7 separate regions of the Homo sapiens genome follow, and all the other regions are linked to region 6. The links are contacts of gene promoters, found by promoter capture Hi-C in blood cells and fetal thymus (Javierre and others, 2016). All regions are on one chromosome and are shown on one strand. The core of a region is centred on a gene start or on the middle of the fragment in contact, and the rest is flanking DNA. Distances in the headings are between cores, read along the strand shown. Region 1 has its middle 210 kb from the start of LINC00861. Region 2 overlaps RNF139 (ring finger protein 139). Region 3 has its middle 180 kb from the start of LINC02964. Region 4 has its middle 190 kb from the start of LINC02964. Region 5 overlaps RNF139-DT (RNF139 divergent transcript). Region 6 holds the start of NSMCE2 (NSE2 SUMO ligase component of SMC5/6 complex). Region 7 has its middle 2.2 kb from the start of TYW2.

Region 1 (3,002 bases), core at 332-2,831, 650 kb after region 6:
TTGAGTTGGGAAAGCCAGAGATTTATGACAAATCTGAATCTATTTTCCATTCTGCAGTAAGGAATGAATGAGATGATGACTGTAAAGTCACTGGCATGTGCAGGGGGCTCAGTGTAGCTGGTCTTCCTCCTCATTGCGGGACTGTCCACATCACCTTTCTTCCAGGTCTGGTTCAAGCTCCATCAGGGTCTGAGTCTGGACTTCTGGGGTCAGGAAGCCATGGAGGATCTCTGACAAGTTCATAGGAGGGACTCCCAAGACCATGCTAAGAGAGCTGTTTCTAGACATCATGAAAAAATGCAGTGTCAGTGAGAAGGATGCATTTGAATAGAGGAGTGAGAAAACGAGGTAGTCAATGTTGAGTGAATGCTGACAGTGCGATGTAATGCTTAAAACTGCCCTTGGAGATGGCCTTTGTTATTATTCCCATTTGGCAAATGAAGAGATGGAGGGGAGCCAGCACTTCACAGCTGGGAGGCTGTCTTGAGAGTTCAGAGTCTCAACTGATGCTCTGAAATGGTGGACTAGGTCCTGAAGAGGCCAGAGACACAGACCAAAAATCAGGTTGGAGGACAGGCAGAAGAGGCATCAGCACAGGCTACATGGTCACAGTGAGGGTGGCACCAACTCGGCCCCTGCGTGGCTGATACACATATAACCTAGCTGATTGGACAGGTATATCAATATCCTTTTGACTTGACTTTCTGGATTACTCCTTCTCCCTCCCTGGATAAAATCATGGGGAGTTTCCTTAGCTTTTTCAATCACTATTAGAAAATAAATGAATAACACCTTTGTTTTAACATAAAAAAACCCAGCCCAGTAAAATTTGCATAACTCCAGAATAGTCCCATGTAATAATGTAACTCCAGTGCAGTCTAGTATAATCATTGACACCCTATGTTCTTATCCAGTTTAAAACTTTTTCATCCCTCTCTTCTTCAGCCTAGGTCACCTGCAAGAGAGCGAGGAATGGCAGCCATATGAAGATATACTAGAGAGAATGCTTTTGATCCATTCAAATGCTTTTAATTAAAATATCAGAATACTGAACACTTAAAATGGGCTTAAACAATAAAGAAGTTGTTATCTCAGAAAACAATAGGTACAATAATTTTAGGATTGCTAGCGTTTTGATGATGGCTTCTTCTCATATTTACAAGAAGGCAGCAGGAGCTCCAGACATCACATTTTCACCTACCTATGCTCAGAGCCCAAAATAAGCAGTCCCTGTTTTGCTTATTTTTAAGAGTGAGAAAAGTGTGTCCAGAACCCCTTCAGCTTGATTCTTCTTTTCTCATATGGACTGTGGCTGTGGCATGTGCCTATTTCTAAGCCAATCATTGGCAAGGAGGATAGAATTAACATGATGGGCTTGAACCAGTCAACACTGGCGCTGAGGAGGAACCATGAATCACATGGACCCTAATTCCTGAAGCAAAACTGGGATTCGCTCAGCAAGGAAGAGAGTGTGGGTGATAGTTATTTGGGGAAACCACATCTGAATGACTGTGACTGTTTGATGTCATGTGGGTTCATGTAAGTGAACCATCTGTTATCCACACCACAGAACAGGTTTCATTATTTCCATTCTACAGGAAAGTCAAACTCAAAGATAATAATTCACTTGAGGGCACAGAGCCAGTTCATTGGAAAATCAACCCTAGGGGTCATATTTTTTAACTATATCTTTACTGGAGCATGATTCTTTTCTCATTCTAACCCTAACTTTTGAAATATCAATTTTCCAAACACATGCTAGCCAATGGCCGTGGGATGAGAAAACATGCGCTTTAGAACTAAAGAGAGTTGGGCTTAAATCCCTGCTTCAGTATTTATTAACTCTGTGACCTGGACATGTACTTAAAACTCTCTCAGTTTTTTCATTTATAAAATGGGAATAATAAATCCTATATCATAGAATTGTCAGACAAGACAGTAGATGTGTAAAGAGCTTAGCATGGTTTAAGAGCTCAATAATTGGTATGCATTGTTATTATTAGTCTTAGTCAAAATATCGTGGAGTTCTTTATCTTCAATGATGTCCAGCCGTCTGTATATCTGTCCTTCCTTTTTTCTTTTCTTCTCTCTTTCTTTTCTTCTTTCTTTGCTTTCATTTTGTTTCTCCTACAAGTCTTTACTGATAACTTTTTAAAGTCATTACCTCTAAGCATAAACACTTCCTTTCCACACTTAGCCTTGTGATTCTGGGGCTGGGACTTTGCAGACCACACATCAAGCCTGGAGGAGGAAGAGGAGACTTGTTCCTTCCCATCTGTTTCCGAGGGCTTCCTGTTGGCTCACAGTTCCTGTGGGCATCACCCTGGAAGCAGCAGCTCCCTGTGTAGCAGCGGGTAACTCTAGTTTGCAGTTTTTCCAGCACTTACAGAGCCAGCCTCACCACACCCCACCCTGAAGACATCAGTGGGGCAGTGACCCCTTCTCAGATCTGGGTTTCAGGCCTATGAGGGCTTCTCTGACCTCAGAGACACCAGCATCAGCCAGGCATTGACCCCTCCCCAGAGGTCTGAGTTTCAGCTCCACGGAGTCCATTATTCAAGTTTTCACGTTTTAGTAATTTCAACGTTTTCCCTAGGTAGTTACTTTGAGTTCTCTTTTTAGTCTTTGAGCTATCAGTTCAATAACTTTATGGCTGGTTAATATATTTTAATTCTTTCTGTTTAAATTGCCAGTATTGGCTTGACTGGATCCTGATTTACACAAGTGCTTCTCATAGACCAGCCACTGTTTTAGGCATTGTGGAGAGAACAGTAAACAAAACAGTGGAAATACTCACCTCAAGGAGGCTACATTCTGCCAGGCAAAACAGAAAATGAACACATACATAACACAAACATGATCTGTCAGAGGGTGGTAAGCTCTACAGTGAAAAAACACCAGGGGAGGGGTGGGTGTGGGTGTGCCGATGCGGGGGTGAGTTGCCCTTTAAGCTGTCATGTTTAAATGATACCACTCATCATATATGTGAGAATATCTTGTTG
Region 2 (3,062 bases), core at 81-2,580, 600 kb before region 6:
CAGTTTTTCTTTAGAAATGGGTGGGAGAATGAAAATGCAAATCAGGAAACCACATTAAAGTCAAGGAAATAAAATAATTTGACCAGAGGATAAAGGACATGAGAGAGTATTTTAAAACTAAAGAAAAAATTAGCTGCCAGAAGCAACTGAGGACCTTTTTTGAAACTTGAGTAGCAGTGTAATTGAGCTGAGTTTGAAAGTCCTGATTCAGAGAGAGACTGAGGGTTGACAAATAAACTGTATCAACTAAACTTTGATATAAACCAGAATGTGCTAAATGTTTTTTATGTAAAATTGTATATTTGTTAGCCATTCTGTGTCTGCAGTATTGTCATAAAATTGTCCTTTCATTCTTTTGAAGATATTACAAAACAAAAATAGTTTTTTTTAAATTGTTTTAAACTAAGATACTCAATGATATAAAAACATCCTGATCTGATTTTACGAGAAAAAGAAGGGGAATGGTGGGGAATGGTGTGTACCGATATATAGTATTTCTTTAGACAACTTGCAGATAATTTCTTTATTGAAACTATCAGGAAGTTTTACTATGAAATTTTACATACATGATGGAAAGTGGAAGACATATACCAATTATATTCCAGGAAAAAATACTTTAATAGTATTGTTATATAGTGTATTGGCTAATTCCAGTGGATCCTCATCTCTCACTGCTGACATTATCTCCAATATTTGACTAAAACAAAACAAAAACAAAAATGGTTAAATCTCCAAGTATACATTTAGTTCTAAAGCTATATAATATTTTTCCACACAAAGGAAAATATTGGCACACCTTTAATATAATAAAGCTTAACAGTTATTAAGTTTTTCAGCAATATCAATAGAAAAACTTACTGCCAGTAACTGGAAACAGATTTATGGACTGTCTTGCATATAACTAGAGCTAAGAACCAGGTTCAAGTAAATTATTAAAGCAGCCATCTGTATTATGTTCACCAATTATAGCATTAACTGAGTGGAAATGAAGAGTCCTTTTCAATTGTGAGTCATAGCATGTTCATTAGTGGGTCATGATGAGCATTTTAAACATTGACAAGTACATTGTACTCAATAAGGGTAAGTACTGTTCCATTTTTTGTTAGGTTTTATTATGTATGTGTGTCCTAAGTCACAACGTAATTTGTACTGTGGGACAGCAGCCACAGTTGGAAATCTACTGCTAGAGAACTAGTCCTTGAGAGACAGCAAATGAAGGTATTAGGTTGCTGCAAAAGTAATATTTACTTGGAAAAATGTGTGGTTATTGAGGGCGAGGGCTTTCTGTACCTCTACCCTTGCGAGAGAAATAAGCCCAGGTGTCCATCCTTCAGTTTCTTTCTTTCTCTGTCTCTCTCTTCCTTCCCTTCCCTCCCTTCCTTTCCTTTCTTTTTCTTTCCTTTCTTTTTTTTTTCTTTTTTCTTTCTTTTTTGAGACGGCGTCTTACTCTGTTGCTCAGGCTGGAGTGCAGTGGCACGATCTCGGCTCACTGCAACCTCTGCCGCCTGGGTTCAAGTGATTCTCCTGCCTCAGCCTCCTGAGTAGCTGGGATTACAGGCACCTGCCATCACACCCAGCTAATTTTTGTATTTTTAGTAGAGACGGGGTTTCACTATGTTGGCTGGCCGTGGTCTTGAACTCCTGACCTTGTGATCCACCCCACCTGGGCCTCCCAAAGTGCTGGGATTACAGGTGTGAGCCACCGCGCCTGGCCGCATCTTTCAGTTTCTGTGCTTACAGTAATGATGATCCGTAGTGTCTCCATACTTATTATATATAAGTGGAAGATTTTTAATACATGAATTAGAAAGTTCCAAAGTCCAAATTGAACATTTAAATATTCTTTGCCTAAGCTTTTTGTTCCCTTAGTATCTTAAATGTTAACACCTAAAGGAATTAAGGATGGAGATCTAAGATTAATGGGAATTTAAAAAATTGTTTTGTAATGTGACACAAAAGCCTTGCTTGATGTTTATACTAAGCAAACACTACACTAAAATTTTATCTGACAGTCAAGATACACTAAAAGCAAATCTATTAACATTTAAATTAAGACAGTGAAAATCCATTTTTCTTAGGAAACTACTGAATGTCCCTCTGTATGCACTTCTCAGAATTGGAACTCTTGATTAATGCTGCTGATGACACAGTTTTGAAGGTCACAGCAGCTTTGCTAAGATTATATTGCATAGCAAATTCATTTTATTGAAATCGCTTATAAGAAATCTATTGGGCTGGGCCCAGTGGCTCATGCCTGTAATCACAGCACTTTGGGAGGCTGAGGCAGGCAGATTGAACTCAAGAGTTCGAGACCAGTGTGGGCAATATGGTGAAACCCTATTTCTAGTAAAACAAAAAAAATTAGCCAGGCATGGTGGTGGACGCCTGTAGTCCCAGCTACTCGGGAGGCTGAGGCAGGAGAATTGCTTGAACCTGGGAGGTGGAGGTTGCAGTGAGCTGAGATTGTGCCACTGCGCTCCAGCCTGGGCAACAGAGCGAGACTCTCTCTCCAAAAAAAAGAAAAAAGAAAAAAAAATCTATTGGAGCTTAGGACATCCTATTTTACTGTTTGATAATGCAGTTTATGGAAATCTTTCTTCGAATAACCCTTCTGTAGCCAAGCCATGCTATTTCCATACATCTTCAGTGGTCAAAGCTGCAGTTATTCCAAAATGAATATAAAGTTGTTTAATGTCCCTGAGAATTTAGTGGCTTTTGTTTAATGTGGCACTTTTACAGTAAGCACAGGTTTTTGTTTTTTTTTTTTGAGAGAGTCTTACACTGTGGCCCAAGCTGGAGTGCAGTGGTGTGATCTTGGCTCACTGTGTGTGATCACACAGTGGTGTGATCTTGGCTCACTACAACCTCTGCCTCTCAGATTCAAGTGATTCTCCTGCCTCAGCCTCCCAAGTAGCTGGGATTACAGGCGCCCACCACCATGCCCGGCTATTTTTTTGTATTTTTAGTAGAGACAGGGTTTCTCCACGTTGGCCAGGCTGGTTTTGAACTCCTGACCTCAACTGATCTGCCTGCCTCGGCCTCCCAAAATGGTAGGATTACAG
Region 3 (3,229 bases), core at 563-3,062, 610 kb after region 6:
AGGACAGCAGATGGCCCAAGTCTGGGAACTGTACCAGGGCAGGAACTGACAGATTATGTGTTTGACTTGAGTCTCAGGGAGGTGAAGTGACCTGCTCAAGTCTCATAACTAGTCAATCACTGACCAAGGACTCCAGCGGATGTCTTCAAGTTCATGTTCAGAGGCCTCCTTCCACTCAGAGCAGTTCTATGCAAAGCAGAGGGGAGCACAGTAGCTTAGGGCAATGGGGAGATCATAGGCTTAGGGGTCCTGCATTTTCTAGCTGGAAGCTAGGTGACATTGGCCTAGAGTCACCTAACATCTGAGCCTTAATCTTTCATCTATAAAATATGAATAATAACATGTACTTCCCAGTGTCACTGGGAACAAGTCTAAACAATGAAAGTGCCCTTTATAATGCCAGACGCAGTAGGTGCTCGATGAAAGGTAGCTACATAGAAAGAAGAATAAGATAGGGTCACTGTCTTCAAGGAACTTGTCCTTTTCCTGAAAGGGGCTGGCGAGTGAAATAAGATCAGAGAGTGAAATTTACCTGCGTGTGAGAGAGAAGAAATAAATACAAATCCCTAGTAGCTAAGCTATAAATGCAACTGGAATTCAGAGAAGAAAGAATGCTCTGTGGGCAGGGGTCAAAGGCTCTGTGGCAGGACCAGTGAGGCGGCCAGGATGGGGGCTTTGGTTCTATAACCAGGCTCCGTGGGTTCATATCTGAATTCCATCTATCTTATTACCTCTGTGTTCTTGGGTGAGGGTAAGTTATTTAATTTCTTTAAGCCTCTGTCTCTTCTGCTTAAAATGAAGATAATTGTAGCACCTGCTCATTGGGTAATTCTGAGACGTTAATGAGAAAATCCTCCTAAGGGGCTCAGTACAGTGCCTGGCGCTTAATAATAGTGCCTTGAATATTATTCCTGTGGAACCAAGCCTTGACCAATGAATATATAAGGCCTTCCGCATCGTAGTGGTTGCAAGGATTAAATGAGAGAATTTATGTTAGGCACCCAGCACAGTGTCTGGTGCACAGCAGGCATTGCTTATGCCCCCTTGCCCTCCAGGGAAGGACAATGCCTTATGTTTCTTCTTATCTCCCATGGCCCTCAGCACAGTATCTGGCTTGAGTTAGTTTTACCACGAAGTATTCAGCTGGGAGCTTGACAACAAGCTAAAAGTTGAAAGTAGGGCCATTTGAAGAAATAACACGAGTGAAAACAAAGCAGTGGAAATAGTCCAAATTATCAAGGAGTTTAAGAAGAACTTCTGGGACCATGGGTGGAGCTGGAAGCTGTTATCCTTAGGAAACTAATGCAGGAACAGGAAACCAAATACTGCATGTTCTCACTTATAAGTGGGAGCTAAATGATGAGAACACATGGACACATAGAGGGGAACAGTGCACTCTGGGGCATATTGAAGGGTGGGAGTTGGGAGAAGATCAGGAAAAATAACTAATGGGTACTGGGCTTAATACCTGGGTGATGAAATAATCTGTACAACAAACCCCCATGACACAAGTTTACCTGTGTAACAAACCTGTGCTTGTACCCCTGAACTTAAAAGTTGGAAAAAAAACAACAACAAAAACAGACCTTTCATTCTTTGTAAGGTCGAGGAAGTCCTATTTGTTTCCCCCTGGTGGCCAACAAAAGCAAACACAGCTCAGTTTTTGGGAAAGGAGTCAGCGCTTAAGCAACAGGAACCGTCACAGGGCTCACCTGACCATCCTGGGCCACGCTTCGGCTGTGATTCAGCCCTGCAGAACGATTCATGACCCGTCTCAACTGCAGTGACTTGCTCCTGGTGACATTTCCCAAGGAATAAACAGTGTCGTAAGAACCAGCCTAGAAACTAAAGAAAGAGCTAGTTATTTCATCTCTTTTCTCTTTATCCAGCCGAATACTTTGAAACTCTGCCCTTTGACCTCCTCCTTCAGGGACAGTATCAAGAATTCTCCTCTTTCCTGTGTCATTTTGGACAATTAATCATATAACAGTAATGACAATATTTTGGGTGTTTATTCTCTGGCAGACACTGTTCTAAGCTCTTTACAAACTTAACTCATTCAATCTCCCAGACAACCATACAGGTATGTACTATTTTGACACCAATTTTTCAGAGGAAGAAACTGAGGCCCAGTGAGAATACGTGACTTGCCCCAGGTGACGTAGCTAGTATGTGGCAGAGCCAGGTTTCAAACCCAAGCAACCCGGCTCCAGATACCATGTTCTTAACTCTGTGAATCAGCCTCCCAGGCCACGTGCTCTAGTGACAAATCTTGGGCCATTGCCTAGTATTGCTGGAATTTTGTGTGGCATAAATCACTCGTCTTACACTTTCATAAAAATGTGGCATAAATCACTCTTCTTACGCAAATCATGGAGAGAAATGACTTTTTATTTTTTTATTTTTATTTTTTTAGAGACAGGGTCTTATCCTGTTGCCCAGGCTGGAGTGCCGTGGTGCAATAATAGCTCACTGACTCACTGGACCTCAAACTCCTGGCCACAAGTGATCCTCCTGCCTCAGCCTCCCAAAGTGCTGGGATAACAGGCATGAGCCACTGGGATCAGCCAGAAATGGCTTTTTAAGAGCACATTGGTGGGTTCCACCCTCAGAGATTCTGATCCAGCTGGTCTGGGGTGGAGCCCAGGAATCTGCATTGTTCACAATGGTGCTCTCTATGGTAGTGGAAAGAGCATAGGTTTTGGGATGCCATCTTCTGTCACTGGTTCTTGGATCTTTGATAAATCACTTTTAGCTCCCCCAATGTCTGTACAATTGGTGTCATGATTCTGACCTTATCGTAGTCATGGTAAGGCTGAAATGAAATGATTTATGTTAGTGTCTGGTAGATGATTTATTTTAGATGCTCCTGTCCTTGAGCTGGGGGGCTGACAGTGATCATCTTTAGTCATATATGACTTGTGAAATGTGAAATGGGACTTTTTGGGTCAGGAACAGATACCGTCTCCTCCTAGCAGCCACAACACAGTGACAAGAGCATCACTGACTTGGCCTGAGCTTTGGCATGATTACTTCAAACCTCTGTTTCTCATCTAAGCAGTGTGGAAACCTGTGCTTCCATGAAGGGTTGTGGGGAAAGCCCTCATGTCAGGTTACACATGAGGAAGTGAGGTTTCATTCTGTCAGGCATTGTTTTTCTTGAACCGTCCACATAGGGGCTCAGCTGAGTTCCAGCCGGGCCAGCGGCTGAGTGTGTGCAGGTCCGAGA
Region 4 (3,147 bases), core at 60-2,559, 620 kb after region 6:
GGGTATGTCTTTATCAGCAGCATGAAAACAGACTAATACAATGAGTGAGGCCCCCAAATCCTTTATATAGATGAAGTTCATGGGAGTTTGGGAGAGAGGGAGGAGATGTAGGCAGTTCCCAGGAAGGGGTCCTTCAATGAGCAAGTCTGCAGGGAAAGGATATCCTGGAAAGGCAGGAGTGCAGTGGAGGACAGGGCTGGGGGGAAGCTGGAGGCTTGCATGGCCAACACCAAGTTTAGTCTTCATATGATGGGCAGGAGGGATTGTGGATGGCTTTGGAGCTGAAGAGCATGATTCATTTTCTTTCATTTACCTTTTTAAAAATAGAAATTAGATTGTCTGTTGTTGCTAGAGTGATTTGGGGGAAAATGACAGAAGTCAGGGAGCCAGGGTAAGAGGCAGCTGCACCTGTTCACTTGTGTGTTAATGACATTGTTAGTGGGATGGAGGAGACCTGCTGAGCACAACGTTGGGAAGAAAATCTTCAAACACCAGTTACAAAAAGGGAGGCCAGGAAAAGTCATTTGTAAATGTGACTGTAAGGGTTTGAGCTTGTAAAAAAATGGGTCCAGGGCAGGTGGGTTAGTAAATTTAGGGAAGTGAGAGAAGTTTGGGGACTGCCACCTATGGTTTCTATTTCCTCAGTGACATTGAGATGAGGTTATCAATCAGCTGAGGGTGAGCAGGGAAGTTCAGTGGAGTAGGAGAAATGAAGAGGCAGAATCAAGTATAAAATAATGGATTCTGAATAAAACACGAAGAATTATATGTACCTAGGTAAAAGATTGGGAACCCCTGGAATAAATCCTTGTTGTTTGCAATCATTAGTAAACAAAATATTGCCTTTCTTTTTAATCTTTCCAATCTGTCATTTGCAGCATTTTTAATGTGAAATTTATTGGTTCCTTTCTATCCTGACTGTTTGAAGTGTGAATGTTAGCTGGTTTACCTGCTGTGTCTGTTTTACTGTTCTTTTCAAATAATCAGCTTTTGGCTCTTTTTTTTCTCTGTTTTGTATTTTTGTTTCCAATTTACTAACTTTTCCTCTTGTCTTTAGTATGTATTTTCCTCTACTTCTGTGGATTTATTTTGTTGTTAGTTCCCTAAATGTTTGCAAGCTTATCTCATTAATTTTCAATCTTCCCTCTTTTCTAATGTAATATTAAAGGCTATAGTTTCCCTCTAAGTACCACTTTAGGTGAATTCTGCAAGCTCGATGCAGTGTTTTTGCTGTCATTTAGTTCTAAACGTTTTCTGATTTACATTTTGATTTATTCTTTGATCTTTGAAATCTTTAGAAGTGTAACTAAACATTTCTGAATATGATTTTCTTTTGCTATTGTTTTTAAGTTAGCTGCATCGTGCTTGAGAGTGCTTGGTCAGTAGGATTGTCTCTCTTTTTGAGATGTTAGGAAACATTGATGACCACCATCCAGATCAGAGGTCAGCAAACTGTGGTGGCCCATTAGCCAAATCCTGACCACTGCCCGTTTTTGTAAGTAAAGCTTTATTGGAATGCAGCCATACATATTCATTTGTGTATTGTTTATGGCTTCTTTTGAGCAGAGGTGAGTAGTTGCCACAAAGACCATTTAGGCCTGTGAAGCCTAAAATACTATCTGGCCTTTAACAAAAACCTTGTCAAATCTTGGACTGGATCTGTCATTGTAGTAGGGTTGCAAAATGGTGATTCTATATTCCTTCTATATTCCAGTTCTATAACCTTTCTTCATTTAATAGATGGGATCATTTAATAATAAGATATTTTCCCTATTAATTATTTGGTTACCCTTAGGTATTGTTTGCACGAGAAAGGCAGGATGGATGCTTGAGTTTTTCCTTTTTCTTACTAGCTTTCTAAAAATAGAAGTTGATGGCTGGGCGTGGTGGCTCATGCCTGTAATGCCAGCACTTTGAAGGCTGACACAGGTGGATCACCTGAGGTCAGGAGTTCGAGACCAGTGTGGCCAACATGTCAAAACCCCATCTCTACTAAAAATACAAAAAAAAAAATCAGCTGGGTGTGGTGGTGGGTGCCTGTAATTCCAGCTACTCGGGAGGCTGAGGCAGGAGAATTGCTTGAACCTGGGAGGTGGAGGTTGCAGTGAGCCAAGATCGTACCATTGCACTCCAGCCTGGACAATAAGAGTGAATCTCCGTCTCAAAAAAAAAAAAAAAAAAAAAAAAAAAAAAGAAGTAGTTGATTTCCTTATTTTTTTTTGACAGAGTCTGACTCTGTCACCCAGGCTGCAATGCAGTGGCACCATCTCAGCTCACTGCAACCTCCACCTCCTAGGTTCAATCAATCCTCCTGCCTCAGCCACCTGAGTAGCTGGGATTACAGATGTATGCCCCCAAGACCCGCAAAATTTTTATATTTTTATTAGAGACGGGGTTTCACCATGTTGCCCAGGCTGGTCTCAAACTCCTGGCCTCAAGTGATCTGCCTGCCTTGGACTCCCAGAGTGCTGGGATTACAGGTTTGAGCCACTGCACCTGATCAAATATGACCGTTTAAAATTACCATTATAGGACTTGGCATGCTGGTTCACGCTGTAATCTCAGGGGTTTGGGGAGGCTGAGGTGCGAAGATCGCTTGAGGCCAGGAGTTTGAGACCAACCTGGGCAACATATTTTTATTATGAAAATAAATAATTTTATCTTATTTAAAGTAAAATGAAAAATTATTTTTATTTTATTTTATTTAAAAATAAATACCATTATCACTATGATATATTTGAGATGTCACTTAATTGCAGTTTTGCTTACATGTTTGCTAATAGAGTTTATGTTTTGATATTGCAAATGTATTTTCTAGTTTCCATCCATTGCAATTATCCTTACTGATGCATTTTCAAATTGTCCCAACTTTGGCCTGTGGAAGCCTCTTCAAGTGGGATCCTGAATCCTTTTGATGTGACCCCTGTAATCTTTGATAACATTTTTGCTTTCTGGCATAATGTGTTCCAGGCTCATCTTCTATATTTCTTTCCCCAAACCTGGTAACCATTTTGTCTTTAACTGGAGAATTTAGTCCACATTTACTCTGGGTTCCGATCTATTTGGATTTAGTCCTATCACTTCACTTTTCTATTTGCATTGTTAATGCTTTTTTTCTAAATCCCTGTCCCTGTCTTTTAGTTTGAT
Region 5 (3,091 bases), core at 591-3,090, 630 kb before region 6:
TCACAGAGTCTTCTGGGTTCCCTCTCCCCATGCCAAAGCCTTTCTTCAGGCAGCAAGTTGGAGCAATTGTATTGCTCACCTTGTTTGCATTCCATCTCTCATGGATTACTATCCTTCACTGCCTATGTCCAATGCCTTCAGGGCCATTGTTTCATATATTTTGCCCATTTAAAAAAAGTATTTGGAAGTTTATAATTACTTTCTACTTAAATTTACTAGCTGTCACAATCATTACTGAAGAAATTCACTCTTGCAATAATATACATATGTACTTCATTTGACACAGAATTTCAACATGTAAAGCATATAAGAATTTCTTGCCACAATCATGTTTAGAATGCTTACCTATAAGGTGAATATTAAAATATTAGTAAATACAATGACTTTTTTCAGATTAGACATGATAAATAACCTGCAAGGTTACTTGACCATTGGTCACACAGAATTTCAGAGAGATCAGAACCAGTGTCAAAATAGGTATTTGTCTTTTTGGCTTTTTAAAGGTCAAGGTTGAATCAAGGGTAAACGAAAATATTGCATGAACATGAAGCTAAAATTGAATTTTATGTAACACAACAACAGCACTGGGTAAATAGAGATAGGTGGATAGACTGTCTCAGTTTCTTTTTAATAATTTTTATTTTTTTAATCGAAGCTTTACACATAATTTAAAAACTCAAAGGTAACAAAACCTAATATGAAAAAAGCCCACCATGATGAAGCAGCTGTTCTGCAGGTGTTTTGCCCTCATTCTGTGTGTCTACTTTCAATTCCAAATGGGCTTATATGACCAAAGAGATGCAGGATCTAACCAACATGTACCAACAGGAACCATGAGCATGTGTATGGAACTGGGTCCTGAGAGTGCTGGACAAGAATTAAGTTTGTGTTTATATAGGACAGCAGTACCCATTTATAGTATTGGCTTAGGGTTATGTTAACTCTTCCACACTGCGTCATAATCCGAAGAGATCTAGACCATCTAAACATCCCACATAATGTCACAATGACCTACCACATTGATGACATCATGCTAGCTGGATAAGGTGAATAATAAGCAGCTAGCATACTGTACACTGGAGGATGGGAAATAATCCTTAAGACCCAGCAAGCTGTTACCTCAGTGAAACTTTTAGGGCCCAGTAGGCTGCTTGAATGCCAAGATATCCCCTTCACAGTAAAGGACAAATTATTGCATCTCACCCACTCATTTCACCAAAATTATTCTGCCACCAGGGAAGCACACCAAGCTGTGTAGGCTTCTGTGGGAATTCAGAAGTTGGCAGTACTGTTCTGACTCGTAAACTGGGTGAGATAGAAATCTGCCAGTTTTCAGTGGGATCCATAGCATGTAAAAGTTCTCTAGCAGGTATGGTGTATTTAGCCCTGTTGCATGGACCAATTCAGGATATTCTATGGGACAAGAGTAAATGTGATAAGAAGCCATGAAAGTTGAAGGCAAGCTCCAATGGGAGAATCACAAGGTCGACTCCTGGCATTCTGTGGCAAGGCTGGGCCATCTGCAGTGCAAAATCCCAAAAACAACTCTATCCATGCTAATGTGCCTTGGTAAGAACTGATTATGGACATCAAGTGACCATGTAGCCAGAGAGGCCCATCATGAGCTGGGCAAAGGCAGGTGGTCAGGCTCCCATGTCATATCTGATTCTTTACCAATGTCCCTTCCTCAGCTCACAATTATGGCCACTTGGGAGGCTCTCATGTCTAGCTTATGGAGGACAAAAAAGCCTGAGCTGAATTCACTGAGGTTTCTTGGAATATAGGTTCAAAACAAAAATGGACTGCTACTGCCCTACAGCCCCACACAGGACTGGCCTTAAAAGACAGCAGTAAGGAGAACCCTCCCAAAAGGCATAATGTGGGGCAGTATTCCTGGTCATCAACTGTGTGTGGAAAGAAAGTGTCTTGAACTAAGAACATATTTTCATGGCAAATAAGTTGGCTAGTTGATCAGGGGTCTGGAATAAGACTGGTATATCAGGGACAAGAAGTCTGGAGAAGCAGAGGAGAAATATATCAGATATGGCACATAAGGAGGGCTTTTTGTATTGTATAACACAATCTTTATCTGCCAGAGACAATCCAACATGTAAGCAGCATTAAATAACCAAGTAGACAGATTTAGCCAGTAAACTTCAGCAGCTACAACCATCGGCTCCACCGCCCCCTCCCTCCGCCCCCAGGAATGGCACAGGGGGCTTATGACAAAGTAGTCATCTTGCAGGAATGCAAGTGAGCAAGAAGCCAATAGATAGCCTCCACTTATCCAATAGCCACTCCCCAGGCTGGGCGCGGTGGCTCCTGTCTGTAATCCCAGCACTTTGGGAGGCTGAGGTGGGCGGATCACCTGAGGTCTGGAGTTTGAGACCAGCCTGACCAACATGGAGAAACCCCGTCTCTACTAAAAATACAAAATTAGCTGGCCGTGGTGGCGCATGCCTGTAATCCCAGCTACTCACGAGGCTGAGGCAGGAGAATCCCTTGAACCCAGGAGGCAGAGGTTGCAGTGAGCCGAGATGGCGCCACGGCACTCCAGCCTGGGCAACCAGTGAAACTCCGTCTCAAACAAAACAAAACAACAACAACAACAACAACAAAATAGCCACTCCCCAGTGTTAAACACCAAGTTCCTGATACAGCACCAACCCTCAAGGATACCAAACAGCTACTTGGGCAGCAAATTGATTTATGTTGGATTCCTTCCATCCTAGAATGGGCAGTGATTCTCCTTGACTAGAAACTGCCCATCTGCATGTATGAGTTTGACTTCCTTGCCTATAAGTTGTTGGCCAGCTCTACTACTCACAGGTTTACAGGTATTTGATCCATCAACATGTATCCTGTGTAATATTGCCTTTGATTTAGGGATGCACTTTACAGCAAAGGAGGTGTATCAGCAGGTACATAACCATGAGATCCACTAGTCCTATCACATACTATATAACCGAGAAAATGCGGGTCTGATGGAATGATGAAAAACCCTTTTGAAGGTGAAACTGAAGCAAAAGCTTGAAGATAATAGCCTGTGAAAATGGAATGACCTTGTCCACCAGGGTACAGTATATACTCT
Region 6 (3,372 bases), core at 620-3,119:
AACTCACTGCTTGTAATCTGTTTTGCCCCATGAAGGGCACTTGTGTTTTCTATTTCTAATAATGCAAGCATCTCCTGCTAAGTTTTTGAAGATGGAAGAAGTTAAAACAAGATTAGCTGAAAGAAGGAAATCACTTAGTTACATTTTATGTACTAGACCTCCTAACCCGGACTAGTTATATTTTCCATGTAACAAATGGAATTTCCATAATTTGTACAAATATAATTTGGCTAGAGTATTTGGTAAATAGCCCCCTCGTTGGCTGAAGGACTAGTCCTGAAGAACAGAATCTAAGAACCATCATTAAAAATGCCTAATCAAGTTGCAGCTAAGAGGTAGGTGGATGGCTTTACAAAGTGTTAAGACTCAGCTAAGTCTTAAAAAACCACTTTAGAATTAGGTCCAAATAAACACTGTAGAAGAAGCTATGTTAAATTATCCTTTCAGAGGTTCTCTTGGTGCTAGGGATCAAGAACACTTGAAGATCAGTTTTCTCAATACAGGCTATATTATTATTGGCATGAAATCCAGAGATCCCACTATATTTTCTTATTTTCTTTTACAAGTGCCGGTAACTTCATTTTTAATAATTTGGCGTGGAACTGTGATTTTCAGTTTGGGAAGTAATCCTAATCAAAAGACATGCTTTCAAGAATAAGGCATGACATCCTTACACCAATTACCCTGAGTACAGAATAATATTTCTTAAGGAAATCGAATTGTCGTGGACAAACAGTTTACCCTCTTCAGAGGACAAAAGAAGGCAGGTCTATTTTTAGCCTTTCGCAAAACCTCAGTTCCATAAAGGAAGCACTGGTCTCCACAAATCCATTATCACAAACAAAATATAACGGTTGCTGATCAAGATAAATGCAAGCTGCATATATTTTCCAGAAAAGTTCTGAAATGAGGCTGAACCTGAAATCCTGGGAAAGGCAGGTGAAGGACAATTAGAGAAGGTGTCCCTTGTAGTGCACAAAGACAGTAAAACTTCGCCCTCACTACGCCTCACCTATGTTTGAGGGAGCTCCATGCGCTTGCAATCAGGAGACCCAGTTTTATGGCTCTGTGACTTTTTTTCTTTCTCCTGTCCGATCATAATCCTGATTCCGATCCCAGGAATCAGGGCCCTGGGAACTTTTTTTTTTTCCCCCAAATGCAAAGGATTTTGACATCAGTATGTCACAGGTGAAGGCATTAAGGCGCGGCGAGCAGCAATGACTTGCCCAAACTCACAGCCCATGGCATAACTAGAATGCAAATCCACGTCTGTCAGCCTGTAAAAGTCCTCACTACTAGCCTTTCAGTTTTCTCAAAAGCAAAGAGAAATAACGACGACATCCATACAGCAGTGTTCCCGGAAACTTGGAAGGATGAGATTCGGACCAAGCAGCTGAACGGTGCTTCCTAAAGCGAGGAAGGGGTGTGCAAAATGATTTCCCCCTAAGCGGAGACGAAGAGCTGGATTACAGCCCCCGCCCCAGAAAGCCCCTAAGCCCTCCATCCCGAGTCCCCCATCCAGGCTGCACGCGACTCTGCAGACCTCCCCGTGGCCAGCGCGGCCCAGCGGGGAGGGGAAGGGGGCCATGCAAAAATGGGGCGCGCTCACTCCATCCCCACTCACCTGTCAGCCGGGCCGCGCCACGGCGCACGCGCAGGGCCGGAGGTCGCGCGCGGAGCCGGCACCCAGTTTCCACCCCTCCCTCAAGGCGGCGGTCCTCTTCTATCCGCAGTCCCGGACCTGGAGCGGGTCAGACCCCGACTTCCGCCCCTGACTCCCCAGGCGGTCACATGACCGAAGCGGCTGGGAGCAGGGAGGGGCATCATGTGACCACTCGCCGGCGACGGCTGATGACGCAAGAGCCCGCTCTCACTTTTCAGCGGCAGGCGAAGGGGGCTGAGGAAAGGAGGTGGGTCTAGGCAGGGGAAATTGGGGTGCCACCAGACGGAGACAGCTTGGACTACCAGGTAGGGAAGAAGCGGGGGACGGCAATGGGGAGGGTGGCAGGAGTTTCGCCACCCTCAGGGACACTCCACGGGGACTCCGAGCCGGGGGTCCGTCTACCCGGATTATGGTTGTGGAACTTTTCACGCCACGGTAGTGAGTCTGGGACAGTTTACCCTCCTGTCCGAGACGCCATCTCTCCATCCTTTCGCCTCAAGTGTGTAGGGGCAAGATTACGAATTTTTGATCCAAATAGATTTTGTTTGAACTGACTTTAAAAGTAAGGCCACGGGAAGGTCGTTTGAATAAACTCTCTGGACCTCAATTTCCTCTTCAGTTATGTAGATTGCAGTGAGAATTAGCGATAAGGAGAATAAAGTGCCGGGACACCAGTTTATGGCATTCTGTAGGTGACCGAGAAATGATGATGTCTGTTGTTATTTTTGTAACTGGCCAAATCTTTATTGGTCCCCTATTTTGTGTGAGGAATTGCTTTATATGCAATAGAATATGTCAGGGTTCTAGTTTAAGGAGGTGTCAGTTTAAAGAAGCTGCAGACATGTGAGCAAATAGTTGTGATGAGTTTCATAATAGGAGTGTGTTGTGTACATGTGCATGTGATAGGGATAATGGTAGCATGAGGGAGGGAAAAGCAATTGTATGAGAAGGATTCAGAGAGAAGGGATTATCCTTGCATGTTGAAAAAGGAGAGGCAGCTCTGGCTGACTTGTACAAGGCTCCCATGGATTTAAAGGAAGTCAACATATTGTCTATAAATAACATGCAGAGAAAAAACTCAGGAAATGCACAACTTGTTCTAAACTTTCTTGGAGATCATAGGTACCGGGAAGAAAAAGATCAGTGTTATTACCTGGGGAGGGATCCAAGAGAGATTGATTTAAACCAGTTATTCTCAACTGATGCACTATTGACATTTTAGGCCAGATAATTTTTTGCTGTGGGGTCAGGGTGAGGGCTGTCCTGTGTTTTGTAGGATGCTTAAGAGCATCCCTGGCCTCTGCCCGCTAGATGCCAACCACAAAGTCTACAGATACTGCTAAATGTCCCCTTGCGAGAGGGGTAAAATCCTTCTTGGTTGAGAACCACTTAAACCAAGCCATGAAAGATGGTATCTTAGTCAATGTGGGCTTCTGTAACGGAAATGCCATAAACTAGGTAGCTTATGAACAACAGAAATTTATTTCTCACAGTTCCGGGGCCTGTTTCCTGGTTCATAGGTGGCTTCTTGCTGTGTCCTCACATGGTGGAATGGCAAAGCAGCTATCTGGAGCATCTTTTAAAAGGGCACTAATCTTATTCATGAAAGTGGGCCTCATCACCTCCCAAGAGGCCCCACCTCCTAATACCATCACCTTGGAAGTTAGGATTTCAACATATACATTTTGGGTGACACAAACATTCAGACT
Region 7 (3,160 bases), core at 661-3,160, 640 kb before region 6:
CACCACACCCAGCCCTAGTGGCCCGTCTTTTAAATCCTGCCAGCTGGAATAAATTTGTTCCATAGCTTGTGTACATGAATGATCTAGGGTGCCTTTGGATCCAAGTAGATACGTAGCTAGGATTAAGGTCTTCTGTTATACTTTAAGAGTTATATCAAGAGTATCTAGCAATAAAGCCTGATAATTTAATAACTATCCCCTACTCATCTATTGGTGCCCTTTAGCTTCTAGGGCCTCTGTTATTTGGTGTGGGGTCAAAACCTCCAGATGTTGTCCCAAAGTTAATTTATTGTCTTCATCTATGAGAAGAGCAGTTGTTGCAACTGCCCTGAAACATCTGAGTCATCCTGAAGCCACATGGTCAATTGGTTAGAAAAATATGCCATGGGTCAAGGGATGTATCCCTGTTTCTAGACAAGAACATTTAGGGCTGTCCCTTGTTTCTCAGCCACATAAAGGAAGAAAGTAAAGCCTGTCCCTAAACCCACGGGGAAGAATTGTCCAAGTTAACACAGAAACCAAAAGATTATTAGGTAATCAAAAGTAAAGACCACAATAGGGGACTCAGCAAAAGAAATGTTTCACTAGAGAAGGGAAATGACAAAGTTCTAGAAAGGAATGTCCAAGTTCAGGCCAGTAGCGGCAAGCAGGACAAGATTTACATGGCCTTGCCATTTGTAACCAAAAAGTAAAAGTCATTCCATTAGCAAGGAGATGAAAAAGAACTGCTGAAAAGCAATCTCCAGTTTTCCATCCTGGAGCAGTTCACCTAGGGGGGACTGGTATAATTGCTGCCAGGCTTAATCTTTCACATTGGACCTTTTCATTTAAAACTTGTAAATGCGAAATTCCAAGTAAGCTTTGCAAAAAAGGAGAGACAATAAACAATTCATTTAAGTGGTCTAGATCTAGGGAAAGTAAATATTACAGAGCCATTTGTCCCCAATGTCTTCTAGCAACATGCCAGAACAACAGGCAAATGGCCCATAACCCAAAGGCAAACAAGAAAAAGGAAAGTTAAAAACCTCAGGACCAGTTCAACAAGATCTCTCTCATAAAGTAGCAGTAAAGCATAGAAAGCAATCAGGAAACTGGCAAGTGGCAGCCTTTGGAAAGCTCTTACAGAGAGCACAAGGAGGACGAATCCACAGTGAATAATGGTTAACATCCCATTGTGCTAAACCCATTTTCAGCTGTGAGGGGCCTTTAATCCTCCCAAGTAGGCCTCAAACCCAATCTTAGATAAGTGTCCTTGTCCTTCATCGGTATAAAAATGTATTCCCCTTCTTACCCAAAGTCAGTCAGTTGGTCCTGCGCAGTCTATTTCTTTTGGGTTGAAGGTCTCACCTCAATAAAGTCCTTGGGAGTTGCCACAGGAAATGTTACTTAAAAGGAATTTTGTTCCAGACCCAAAAAACAGGTTCTTGGATCTCAGACAGGAAAGAATTTAGGGCCAGTCACAGAGCACAGTGAAAGAAGCAAGTTTATTAAAGACTACTCTATTACAGAGTAGGGTGTTCTCAGAAGGCGAGAGGAGGACCCCACACCAAAAATTATGTAGCTAGCTAAGAATAATGGTCTCATGTGCTTTAGTACAACAGCTTGTGATCCACTTGTGACAGAGTATTAGTAGTGTTATTCTCTGTGTAACTATTGATTTCAGCAAACATTTATGAAAATACTATTATCTTTAAAGAGAAACCTATTCTTAAACTAATAATGCTTTCTGTTCTCAAGATATCAGGACATCTTCTTAAGTTCTGGGTCTTGTTTAGTGAGTAAGAATCATTAGCTCGTTCAGCCAAAAGGTCTTGTTATGGGTAGAGGGTGTCCAGGTTCGTGACATCTTGAACAAAGAATTGGACAAAATGTACAAACCAAGGAAAGAATGAAGCAACAAAATCAGATTTATTGAAAATGAAAGTACACTCCCCAGGATGGGAGCAGCCCCTGTCTAGGGGCTCAACAGCTGGGTTACAGAATCTTCTGGGGTCCAAATACCCACTAGAGGTTTCTTACTGGTCACTTGGTGTTCACCCCATGCAAATGAAGTAGTGGCCTGCAATCAGAGGCTGAAGTAAAGTTACAAAGTTGCACTCCTATGCAAACGTCTGATTGAGGCCATTATTTCATTTGCATGGAGTGCACACCAAGTGGCCAATGGGAAACCTCTAGTGGGTATTTGGATTGATTGGTGGCTTTCTGCAACCAATCAGAGGTACTTTCAATTTTCCTTCTGCCCTGCAGAAAAGCAGGTTTGCAAAGGGAGTAACCTCTGGTCCTTCTGTTACTTAGGCATAGATAGTTGGTTTTTTCCTTTTGATTTAGTTCTACGAAGTCAGTGTGAATCAGCCTTAGGTTCCCTGCCTCCAGACCCTATTTTCCTGCCTCAGTCTTATTATGGAGAGTACTTAACTTTCTGGGAATGTAACCCAGCAGGTTTTGCTTTATTCAGCCTTTATTCAAGATGGAGTCACTCTGGTTTGGACTCCTCTGACAGCGGGAGTGAAGTAGAAGTGATAGGGTTTCTTTACAGTTCTTATATCCAACTATTTGATTTAGTCTATATGGAATTCCCCTTTGTCTTCTTTAGGAATATCAAAGCATTTCAACAGGTATTTAGTACCTGTGAGCTAGCCAACTTGTTACTTTGTATCTTTTTAAGTATCTACTCTTTACTAGTTATTGTCTAAGACACTATAATGTCTCTACTCACTATAGCAATCTTCTGAAGATTAGATTCCATTTTATAAGTGAAGATTCCAATTTTGAGGGGTGATACGATTTACTGGAACTCAGATCCTTCTGACTTTCAAATAGTTGTTTCTTGGACCAAAGGACAATGAAACAGTGATGACTATATCTGCATGAAAAGGGAAAAAGGGAGCTGTATCTGACTCTTCACTTTCAGAAAATAAGGTGGCTGCTGATGCTAACCTGAGAGCAGCATTAGGCTATGGGAAAGCTTTCTCCAAATTCAGATCATCATTTTGTTACAGGAAAGGGGTCCCAATGCAGACTACAACATGGGGTTCTTGGATCTCATGCAAGAAAGAATTCAGGGCAAGTCCGCAGTGCAAAGTGAAAGCAAGTTTATTAAGAAAGTAAAGGAATAAAAGAATGGCTATTCCATAGACAGAGCAGCCATGAGGGCTGCTGG

What was found. The method cuts DNA at HindIII sites, captures the fragments that hold promoters and counts their contacts. A CHiCAGO score of 5 or more calls a contact.
Region 1: a fragment that was not itself captured here is called in contact with the fragment with the promoter of NSMCE2 in region 6 in 1 of 17 cell types (neutrophils); the score reaches 7.6 in neutrophils.
Region 2: a fragment that was not itself captured here is called in contact with the fragment with the promoter of NSMCE2 in region 6 in 3 of 17 cell types (naive B cells, fetal thymus and erythroblasts); the score reaches 7.1 in naive B cells.
Region 3: a contact is called between a fragment that was not itself captured here and the fragment with the promoter of NSMCE2 in region 6, in 16 of 17 cell types (neutrophils, total B cells, M0 macrophages and 13 more). The highest score is 22.6, in neutrophils.
Region 4: a contact is called between a fragment that was not itself captured here and the fragment with the promoter of NSMCE2 in region 6, in 4 of 17 cell types (neutrophils, naive B cells, total B cells and 1 more). The highest score is 8.8, in neutrophils.
Region 5: a contact is called between a fragment that was not itself captured here and the fragment with the promoter of NSMCE2 in region 6, in 1 of 17 cell types (erythroblasts). The highest score is 6.3, in erythroblasts.
Region 7: a contact is called between a fragment that was not itself captured here and the fragment with the promoter of NSMCE2 in region 6, in 2 of 17 cell types (fetal thymus and naive B cells). The highest score is 5.2, in fetal thymus.

Annotation. Positions count from the first base shown.
Region 1 is chr8:125,743,965-125,746,966 of GRCh38, forward strand. No RefSeq gene overlaps it. Among named protein-coding and RNA genes, the nearest start is that of LINC00861, 210 kb to the right of the region's middle. The HindIII fragment of the contact is 5,314 bases long and covers 1-3,002 here.
Region 2 is chr8:124,488,000-124,491,061 of GRCh38, forward strand. RNF139 (ring finger protein 139) reads left to right here. Exons shown (of 2, transcript NM_007218.4): 2 at 1-619. It overlaps TATDN1 (TatD DNase domain containing 1), which reads right to left. Exons shown (of 12, transcript NM_032026.4): 12 at 499-697. The coding sequence ends at 595. Among named protein-coding and RNA genes, the nearest start is that of RNF139, 15 kb to the left of the region's middle. The HindIII fragment of the contact is 1,041 bases long and covers 811-1,851 here.
Region 3 is chr8:125,695,254-125,698,482 of GRCh38, forward strand. No RefSeq gene overlaps it. Among named protein-coding and RNA genes, the nearest start is that of LINC02964, 180 kb to the left of the region's middle. The HindIII fragment of the contact is 4,191 bases long and covers 1-3,229 here.
Region 4 is chr8:125,713,324-125,716,470 of GRCh38, forward strand. No RefSeq gene overlaps it. Among named protein-coding and RNA genes, the nearest start is that of LINC02964, 190 kb to the left of the region's middle. The HindIII fragment of the contact is 387 bases long and covers 1,117-1,503 here.
Region 5 is chr8:124,463,650-124,466,740 of GRCh38, forward strand. It overlaps RNF139-DT (RNF139 divergent transcript), which reads right to left. Exons shown (of 2, transcript NR_108047.1): 2 at 1-3,091. Among named protein-coding and RNA genes, the nearest start is that of RNF139-DT, 9.4 kb to the right of the region's middle. The HindIII fragment of the contact is 2,374 bases long and covers 654-3,027 here.
Region 6 is chr8:125,089,991-125,093,362 of GRCh38, forward strand. NSMCE2 (NSE2 SUMO ligase component of SMC5/6 complex) reads left to right here and starts at 1,870. Exons shown (of 8, transcript NM_173685.4): 1 at 1,870-1,968. It overlaps WASHC5 (WASH complex subunit 5), which reads right to left and starts at 1,802. Exons shown (of 29, transcript NM_014846.4): 1 at 1,625-1,802. RefSeq lists a silencer at 1,522-1,691 and an enhancer at 1,742-1,961. The HindIII fragment of the contact is 6,790 bases long and covers 1-3,372 here.
Region 7 is chr8:124,447,031-124,450,190 of GRCh38, forward strand. No RefSeq gene overlaps it. Among named protein-coding and RNA genes, the nearest start is that of TYW2, 2.2 kb to the right of the region's middle. The HindIII fragment of the contact is 2,106 bases long and covers 858-2,963 here.